3 separate regions of the Homo sapiens genome follow, and regions 1 and 3 are each linked to region 2. Evidence: promoter capture Hi-C in 16 types of primary human blood cells and fetal thymus (Javierre and others, 2016). All regions are on one chromosome and are shown on one strand. Each heading gives the region's core, a stretch centred on a gene start or on the middle of the fragment in contact. The rest is flanking DNA. Distances are from core to core; before and after follow the strand shown.

What was found. The method cuts DNA at HindIII sites, captures the fragments that hold promoters and counts their contacts. A CHiCAGO score of 5 or more calls a contact.
Region 1: a fragment that was not itself captured here is called in contact with the fragment with the promoter of BUD13 in region 2 in 6 of 17 cell types (naive B cells, neutrophils, total B cells and 3 more); the score reaches 7.5 in naive B cells.
Region 3: a contact is called between a fragment that was not itself captured here and the fragment with the promoter of BUD13 in region 2, in 9 of 17 cell types (naive B cells, non-activated CD4 T cells, neutrophils and 6 more). The highest score is 7.5, in naive B cells.

The regions. Positions count from the first base shown.
Region 1 is chr11:117,338,879-117,342,072 of GRCh38, reverse strand. The region is part of intron 3 of CEP164 (centrosomal protein 164); the gene reads right to left. Among named protein-coding and RNA genes, the nearest start is that of CEP164, 13 kb to the right of the region's middle. The HindIII fragment of the contact is 3,559 bases long and covers 1-3,194 here.
Region 2 is chr11:116,770,863-116,774,272 of GRCh38, reverse strand. It overlaps BUD13 (BUD13 spliceosome associated protein), which reads left to right and starts at 1,286. Exons shown (of 10, transcript NM_032725.4): 1 at 1,286-1,451. The coding sequence starts at 1,309. ZPR1 (ZPR1 zinc finger) reads left to right here. Exons shown (of 14, transcript NM_003904.5): 14 at 1-474. It overlaps BUD13-DT (BUD13 divergent transcript), which reads right to left and starts at 802. Exons shown (of 2, transcript NR_186226.1): 1 at 762-802; 2 at 68-363. RefSeq lists an enhancer at 738-827 and a silencer at 948-1,147. The HindIII fragment of the contact is 6,866 bases long and covers 1-3,410 here.
Region 3 is chr11:117,285,867-117,288,845 of GRCh38, reverse strand. It overlaps RNF214 (ring finger protein 214), which reads right to left. Exons shown (of 15, transcript NM_207343.4): 15 at 2,392-2,979. BACE1 (beta-secretase 1) reads left to right here. Exons shown (of 9, transcript NM_012104.6): 9 at 1-2,979. Among named protein-coding and RNA genes, the nearest start is that of BACE1, 29 kb to the left of the region's middle. The HindIII fragment of the contact is 3,297 bases long and covers 1-2,979 here.

The sequences.
Region 1 (3,194 bases), core at 527-3,026, 570 kb before region 2:
ATAAATGCAAGAAGGAAGTAAATGAGGTAGGAGCTAGAGAACATCAGGGTGGAAGAGCATTCCTCTAGAAATGATGGTCAAGGAATCGAGCTATTGCACTCCAGCCTGGGCAACAAGAGTGAAACTCCATCTCAAAATAATAATAACAATAATAAAAATTATGGCCAAGGAATGCCTCTCAGCAATGTTGACAGTTAACTGAAACCTGCATAAGTGAAAGGAGGCAGCCATGCAGAGCACTGGAGAAAGAGCATTCAGGCAGAAGAAGCACAGGTGCAAAGGACCTGTGACAACCAGTAGCTCTGGGGACTGTCAGAAAGCCAGTATAGCCAGGTATGGTGATGCACACCTGTAATCCCAGCACGTTGGGAGACTGAGGTGGGTGGATTGCTTGAGCCCAGGAGTTCAAGACCAGCCTGGGCAACACGGCAAGACCCCATCTCTACCAACACAATACAAAAATTAGCCAGGCCTGATGGTATGCACTTGTGGTCCCAGCTACTTGGGAGGCTGAGGTGGGAGAATCACTTGAGCCCAAGGGGTCAAGGCTTCAATAAGCCAAGTTCACACCACTGCACTCCAGTCTGAGTGACAGAGTGAAACTCGGTCTCAAAAAAAAAACAAACAAACAACAAAAAAAGGCCAATGTGACTGGTAGAAAGAGCCAGGTCACAGAGCCCTGCAATCCCATCAAGGGTGTTATGTTGAGTATACTGGGGATGCGGGGGGACTAAAAGCACAGCCCTGACATGATCTGCTTTATAAACAGTAAGGCTAATTAGGAAGCTACTGAGATAGCCCAGGAAGAGAAAATGGTGGCTTGAGGTTAGAATGCCTACACCTGGACTGGGCCGAAGAAAGTTTTTATAAACATCCTTAGAAAAACCTTTGACTCCATTTACAACAGCAACCAAATGTATACAAATTTAAGAAACAGGCCATTCATGGCTAGGTGCAGTGACTCACACCTGTAATCCCAGCACTTTGGGAGGCCGAGGCAGGTAGATCACCTGAAGTCAAGAGTTCAAGACCAGCCTGACCAATATGGTGAAACCCTGTCTCTGCTAAAAATACAAAAATTAGCTGGGTGTGGTGGCGTGCACCTGTAGTCCCAGCTACTTGGGAGTCTGAGACAGAAGAATCACTTGAACCTGGAGGTTGCAGCGAGCCGAGCTCACGCCATTGCAGTCCAGCCTGGGCGACAAAGTGAGACTCCGTCTCTAAAGAGAAAGTAGGAAAGAAAGAAAGAGGCCAGTCGTAGTGGCTTATGTCTGTAATCCCTGCACTTTGGGAAGCCCAGACAGGAGGATCACTTGAACCCAGGAGTTCAAGACTAGCCTGGGCAACACAGTGAGAGCCTATCCCTACAAAAAAATTTATTTTAATTAGCCAGACACATGACATGCACCTGTAGTTCTAGCTACATGGGAGGATCACCTGAGCCCACGAGTTCAAGGCTGCAGTGAGCTATGATGGAGCCACTGCATACTAGCCTGGGTGACAGAGTAAGACTGTCTCTAAAAACAAAAATATGGAAAACAAAAAAAACACCCTATGCTATAAGCAAAGTCCAGCATTTAACATGAGATCCATGTATTCCTAGAGATGCAAGAATTGTGAACCCTGCTCTCAAGTCCATGAACCACCTGAATTATAAGCAAACTTTGTATGCCTAGATCATAACTCGTCAGAATTTCAAAGAAACTTTCACTCCAAATAATTGCATAGTGCTTCAAAGTGCAGGCCCTATGGCCAGGCACAAGTGGCTCATGCCTGTAATCCCAATCCTCTGGGAGGCCAAGACGGGGAGATCACTTGTCAGTTTGAGACCAGCCTCGCCAACATGGCAAAACCCCGTCTCTGTTAAAAATACAAAAAAATTACCCAAGCACAGTGGCACGCATCTGTAGTCCCAGCTACTAGGGAGGCTAAGGCAGGAGATTCACTTGAACCTGGGAGGCGGAGGTTGCAGTGAGCAGAGATCCCGCCACTGCCCTCCAGCCTGGGCGACAGAGTGAAACTCCATCTCAAAAAAAACAAACTAACAAAAAAAAACAAAGAACAAAGTACAGGCCCTAGAGCTTGAATACCTGGAGGTGGATTCTAGCAACACCACTTAGAATAGAACTGTATATCCACAGGAAGTTAATCTTTCTGTGCCTTGATTTCCTCATCTGTAAAATGGGGATAATAATAGTACCTAACTCATGGAGTTGCAGTGAGGGTTGAAAAGGTAATACATGGGCCAGGCATGGTGTCTCCCGCCTGTAATCCCAGCACTCTGGGAAGTGGAGGTGGGAAGATCACTTGAGGTCAGTTTGAGACCAGCCTGGCCAACACTGCAAAACCCCTTCTCTACTAAAAATACAAAAATTAGTTCCCCAGGTGTGGTGGTGGGCACCTGTAGTTCTAGCTACTCAGGAGGCTGAGGCATGAGATTCGCTTGAACCCGGGAGAGAGAGGTTGCAGTGAGCCAAGATCATACCACTGCATTCCAGCCTGGGTGACAGAGTGAGACTCTGTCTCAAAAAAAAAAAAAAAAAAAAAAAACAAAAAACAAAGGAAAAGGTAATAAGGTAATACATGCAAAGTGCTTAAAACAGACGCTGGCACATAATAAGTTATGTTGTTATTGTTACTAATAATGTTATTGTTGTTTAAAAAAACACTGCTCTAAGTTCGTGCTTAGGAAATTGGGTTTCCCCTGGTCTCAGAACACACTGTATTTAGATACCCCCTACTATGTTTCCATTTAAATCTAATCACTGCTCTAACCCAAAGACAGCAAACTTTTTCTGTAAACAACCGGAGAGTAACTATCTTACCCTTTGTGGGTCATATACCTCTCTTAACAGCCACATATCTCTGCAGCTGTAGCATAGAAGCAGCCACACACAATACATAAACCATTGTGGCTGTTTTCCAATGAAGGTGTATTTACAAAAATAGGCAAGTAGCCAGGCAAGGTGGCTCACGCCTGTAATCCCAGCACTTTGGGAGCCGGAGGCAGGCAAACCGCTTGAGGTCGGGAGTTCGAGACCAGCTTGTCCAACATGGTGAAACCCGTCTCTACTAAAAGTACAAAAAATTAGCCAGGTGTGGTGGTGCACGCCTGTAATCCCAGCTTCTCGGGAGGCTGAGGTGGGAGAATCACTTGAACCTGGGAGGCAGAGGTTGCAGTGAGCTGAGATCAC
Region 2 (3,410 bases), core at 37-2,536:
TATTGTTTACTTGAAGTTTGCTAAGACAAATTTGCTTAAGTGCCCCCCCACCGAACTACTACATAAATTAGTGAAGGATGTTTTACTTAATTTGATTTTGGTAATCATTACACAATGTATAATTATATCCAGTCATCACATTGTACACCTTGAATATATATAATTTTTTGTCAAATAATAAAGCTGGGAAGAAAACGATAAAACTGACAATCTAACATATATGATGAGGTAAAAAGATCTGGTATTTCAAGAAATTTGGATGACCTCTTGCACCCCACTTCGCTAGCCTCTACTCCCTAGAGTCATGTTCTGACTATGTGAAGTTGAGCAACTTCCTTAATCTTGCCACGCTTCAGTTCTTATCTGTAAAATATGATAATGAAACGATTTGAGAATTGTGAGGGTTAAATGAGATAATTCAGGTAAAGCTCTAAACCCCCTGCAAAGAATAAAGTCTTTTCTTTCCCCCCAAAACTTGAGTGTTAGAATTCATTCTCTCTGGTTTCTCTCTTTTACTATGCTAAAAAATGATCCAGGTCCGTCCTTCTCATTGGCAAGATTGTTTTACAGTTTCCTTCAAGAGATAACTGGGGGCTACTTGTAATAGAACACTAGAAGAGTTACACAGGTCTTAGAAACTACGTTTTTCATAGTAATTATGTTGGTTTGCACTTCCTGGCTTCCTTTCTTGGACGGTAGGTACCTGGAAGCCTAGTGGAGCAGATTCCCCCCACTTAAAGATACTTATAAAAATAACGAACATAGTTCCGATGACCATGTGCCCAACACCGCTCTGCGCACTTCACACAGTAATATCATCTCAGCCTGTGACCGTTCCGAGTTAGGTGCCGGGATTCTCCCTGTTTTGTGATAACTTGCCCGAGGTCGTACAGCTAGCCAGCTATGGAACCAGTATTCAAACTCGGCTACGCTGCAGCCCGTGGCCCTCCACTTTCTTGCTCGTGCTCTGGAGTTTAGGCGGCCGATGGGGGCGGGGTCCTTTGGGTCAGGTTGTGGCCTCATAGAACAGCGCTTGCTGCGGTTGGATGGATGGGTGGGTGGGTGGGTGAGTGAATGAAGAGAAGAAACCTGGTGGCGTCGTCCCAGGGCTGTGGAGCGCCCCGAAGGTGCGCACGTCCCTGGCTAGCCTGCGAGCGCGTCCCGGTGGCCGCACCTGCCAGCCGCGCGATTCTTAGCACTCTCCGCCACTTCCGGCCGTGGCCCCGCCCTGTCGGGTGGCTGGCGTCCGTTACGCGTTGAGGCATTTTGTCCCCAGCGCCGACCCGTCTCTCTGCCCCCGCCGCTGCCATGGCGGCAGCTCCGCCGCTTTCCAAGGCCGAGTATCTGAAGCGTTACTTGTCCGGGGCAGATGCCGGCGTCGACCGGGGATCTGAGTCCGGTCGCAAGCGTCGCAAAAAGCGGCCGAAGCCTGGCGGGGCCGGCGGCAAGGGGTGAGTTGGTACCGGCCGGGGCGGGGCCTGCGACGTCTAGCCACCCCTTCCCAACTCCGCCCTCGGCCGCCCGGCAGTTCCTTCCCTCTTGGCGGGTCTCTCGGCTTCTCCGCCGACCCCTGCTCATGCTCAGGGCCCCACTCACATCGCTTGAGGCCCCCCGCCTTGCCTCTGCCGCCCCGCTTACATCTCGAGCCTCTGAGCAGTAGCGTCAGTGCGTTAAAGCCGGGGTGTAACTTTGATTACTCTTTTCCCGCCTTGGTAGACTTCCGTCCTCTCCCATAGAGAATGAATATTGTGCCTCGAGAATAATGGAGCGGATTCAAAGCCTCTGTGCTTGGATCTTTAGGGCCCGGTACCTGCCTGTGGGGATTCCCAGATCCCAAGGACTTGGTTCTGAATCAGAGACCTTTGATCACCTCCTGTTACTCTTAGTAATAGTCCTAACGTGAGAAGCTAACATTTATATAGTTATACTTTTCTTGCCAGGCACCATTATAAGAAATTTAAACATATATAAGTTTATTTAAGCCTCACCACACTACCATGAAGTGGGTATTATTTTCATATGGGACAACTTTGTGGCCCAGTGTAGTGGGCCCTACCAAATCGTTTTCCACCCAGAACCACAGAATGTGACATTTAGAAATAGGGTCTTTGGAGATGTAATCAGTTAAGATGAGGTCATACTTGATTAAGGTGGGTGCCAAATCCAAGATGACTGTTTGCCTTTTAAAAAGAGGGAAGTATGGATACAGACACAGCAACAAAGGAAAAACGACCATGTCTAGATGAAGGCTGAGATTGGATTGGATTTATGTTGCCAAAAGCCAAGGTATGCTTGGGGCTACCAGAAGCTGGGAGAGGCAAGGAAAGATTCTCTGCTAGAGACTTTCCAGGGAGGATGGCCTTGCAGACACCTGGATTTCAGATTGCTAGCTTCCAGAACTGCGAGAGAGTTTCTGTTGTTTTATGCCACGCAATTTGTGGTACTTTGTTACAGTAACCCTAAGGCACTGAGATACCCAGTGAAGTCACATTGTTCTAAAGAACTAGTCCAAGTTCTTTTCTGGTTTGGTGCTTGCCTTATTATTGTCTTCGTCTTTCTGCCTCGCTGACTTGTGTGGATCCTTTGGAGGCAGTGCCATGTGATGAAAGTAGCTTGAGTGTTGGAGCAGCACTGGTCAGAGTTCGAATCCTAGCTGTGCCACTTTATAGGCTGTGTACCCTTGGGCAAGGTGTTTCATCTCACTGAGCTGCAGTTTCCTTATCTTTAAAATGAGAATAATAATAATAATGGTTTTATTAAGTGGTGGTTGTGATTAGAGGGATTGCATTAAGTGACCCTGGCTTTTTGAATAACTTCACATCATGGCAGTCATTGTTATTATTTGGGCTCAGCTATATAGTTTATCCACGTAACAAACATTTATTGAATATTTCGTATTCCAGTTACTGTAGGGTGTTGAGGATGCCTCTGTGAACAAAAAAAACATAGTCCCTGTTCTTGTGGAGCTTATAGATTAATGGGAATACAGGCTTTAAGCAACTAATTACACAACTAATCGATATATTTTCTTTATGATAAATGCAATGAAAGTATTCCAAGAGTTTTTAACAAGGGTTCTTAGTCTTGAGTGAGTGTGGGATGGTGAGGGAATTGGGTGAAGCAGTCAAGAAAAGTTTGCCAAAGGAAGTTAAATTTGTGTTAGGACCTGAAGAATGAGGAAGAGTTTCCTGGAATGAGAAAGAGTTTCCTAGCACTTTGGGAGGCCAAGGCGGGTGGATTGCTTGCATCTAGGAGTTTGAGACCAGTCTGGGCAACATGGTGAAACCCTGTTTCTACAAAAAATACAAAAAAGTAGTCAGGCACAGTGGCACATGCCTGTAGTCCCAGCTACTTGGGAGACTGAGTAGGGAGAATAACTTAACCCCGGGAAGTCAAGGCTGCAGGGAGCC
Region 3 (2,979 bases), core at 104-2,603, 510 kb before region 2:
GTTTTCAATGTTTTCTTTTCTGTGGTTGCAGCCTGACCAAAAGTGAGATGGGAAGGGCTTATCTAGCCAAAGAGCTCTTTTTTAGCTCTCTTAAATGAAGTGCCCACTAAGAAGTTCCACTTAACACATGAATTTCTGCCATATTAATTTCATTGTCTCTATCTGAACCACCCTTTATTCTACATATGATAGGCAGCACTGAAATATCCTAACCCCCTAAGCTCCAGGTGCCCTGTGGGAGAGCAACTGGACTATAGCAGGGCTGGGCTCTGTCTTCCTGGTCATAGGCTCACTCTTTCCCCCAAATCTTCCTCTGGAGCTTTGCAGCCAAGGTGCTAAAAGGAATAGGTAGGAGACCTCTTCTATCTAATCCTTAAAAGCATAATGTTGAACATTCATTCAACAGCTGATGCCCTATAACCCCTGCCTGGATTTCTTCCTATTAGGCTATAAGAAGTAGCAAGATCTTTACATAATTCAGAGTGGTTTCATTGCCTTCCTACCCTCTCTAATGGCCCCTCCATTTATTTGACTAAAGCATCACACAGTGGCACTAGCATTATACCAAGAGTATGAGAAATACAGTGCTTTATGGCTCTAACATTACTGCCTTCAGTATCAAGGCTGCCTGGAGAAAGGATGGCAGCCTCAGGGCTTCCTTATGTCCTCCACCACAAGAGCTCCTTGATGAAGGTCATCTTTTTCCCCTATCCTGTTCTTCCCCTCCCCGCTCCTAATGGTACGTGGGTACCCAGGCTGGTTCTTGGGCTAGGTAGTGGGGACCAAGTTCATTACCTCCCTATCAGTTCTAGCATAGTAAACTACGGTACCAGTGTTAGTGGGAAGAGCTGGGTTTTCCTAGTATACCCACTGCATCCTACTCCTACCTGGTCAACCCGCTGCTTCCAGGTATGGGACCTGCTAAGTGTGGAATTACCTGATAAGGGAGAGGGAAATACAAGGAGGGCCTCTGGTGTTCCTGGCCTCAGCCAGCTGCCCACAAGCCATAAACCAATAAAACAAGAATACTGAGTCAGTTTTTTATCTGGGTTCTCTTCATTCCCACTGCACTTGGTGCTGCTTTGGCTGACTGGGAACACCCCATAACTACAGAGTCTGACAGGAAGACTGGAGACTGTCCACTTCTAGCTCGGAACTTACTGTGTAAATAAACTTTCAGAACTGCTACCATGAAGTGAAAATGCCACATTTTGCTTTATAATTTCTACCCATGTTGGGAAAAACTGGCTTTTTCCCAGCCCTTTCCAGGGCATAAAACTCAACCCCTTCGATAGCAAGTCCCATCAGCCTATTATTTTTTTAAAGAAAACTTGCACTTGTTTTTCTTTTTACAGTTACTTCCTTCCTGCCCCAAAATTATAAACTCTAAGTGTAAAAAAAAGTCTTAACAACAGCTTCTTGCTTGTAAAAATATGTATTATACATCTGTATTTTTAAATTCTGCTCCTGAAAAATGACTGTCCCATTCTCCACTCACTGCATTTGGGGCCTTTCCCATTGGTCTGCATGTCTTTTATCATTGCAGGCCAGTGGACAGAGGGAGAAGGGAGAACAGGGGTCGCCAACACTTGTGTTGCTTTCTGACTGATCCTGAACAAGAAAGAGTAACACTGAGGCGCTCGCTCCCATGCACAACTCTCCAAAACACTTATCCTCCTGCAAGAGTGGGCTTTCCAGGGTCTTTACTGGGAAGCAGTTAAGCCCCCTCCTCACCCCTTCCTTTTTTCTTTCTTTACTCCTTTGGCTTCAAAGGATTTTGGAAAAGAAACAATATGCTTTACACTCATTTTCAATTTCTAAATTTGCAGGGGATACTGAAAAATACGGCAGGTGGCCTAAGGCTGCTGTAAAGTTGAGGGGAGAGGAAATCTTAAGATTACAAGATAAAAAACGAATCCCCTAAACAAAAAGAACAATAGAACTGGTCTTCCATTTTGCCACCTTTCCTGTTCATGACAGCTACTAACCTGGAGACAGTAACATTTCATTAACCAAAGAAAGTGGGTCACCTGACCTCTGAAGAGCTGAGTACTCAGGCCACTCCAATCACCCTACAAGATGCCAAGGAGGTCCCAGGAAGTCCAGCTCCTTAAACTGACGCTAGTCAATAAACCTGGGCAAGTGAGGCAAGAGAAATGAGGAAGAATCCATCTGTGAGGTGATAGGCAAGGATGAAAGACAAAGAAGGAAAAGAGTATCAAAGGCAGAAAGGAGATCATTTAGTTGGGTCTGAAAGGAAAAGTCTTTGCTATCCGACATGTACTGCTAGTACCTGTAAGCATTTTAGGTCCCAGAATGGAAAAAAAAATCAGCTATTGGTAATATAATAATGTCCTTTCCCTGGAGTCAGTTTTTTTAAAAAGTTAACTCTTAGTTTTTACTTGTTTAATTCTAAAAGAGAAGGGAGCTGAGGCCATTCCCTGTAGGAGTAAAGATAAAAGGATAGGAAAAGATTCAAAGCTCTAATAGAGTCACAGCTTTCCCAGGTATAAAACCTAAAATTAAGAAGTACAATAAGCAGAGGTGGAAAATGATCTAGTTCCTGATAGCTACCCACAGAGCAAGTGATTTATAAATTTGAAATCCAAACTACTTTCTTAATATCACTTTGGTCTCCATTTTTCCCAGGACAGGAAATATGTCCCCCCCTAACTTTCTTGCTTCAAAAATTAAAATCCAGCATCCCAAGATCATTCTACAAGTAATTTTGCACAGACATCTCCTCACCCCAGTGCCTGTCTGGAGCTCACCCAAGGTCACCAAACAACTTGGTTGTGAACCAACTGCCTTAACCTTCTGGGGGAGGGGGATTAGCTAGACTAGGAGACCAGAAGTGAATGGGAAAGGGTGAGGACTTCACAATGTTGGCCTGTCAGAGCTTGATTAGAAGCCAAGACAGTGGCAGCAAAGGAAGACTTGGCCCAGGAAAAACCTGTGGGTTGTGCTAATTTCTGTCCA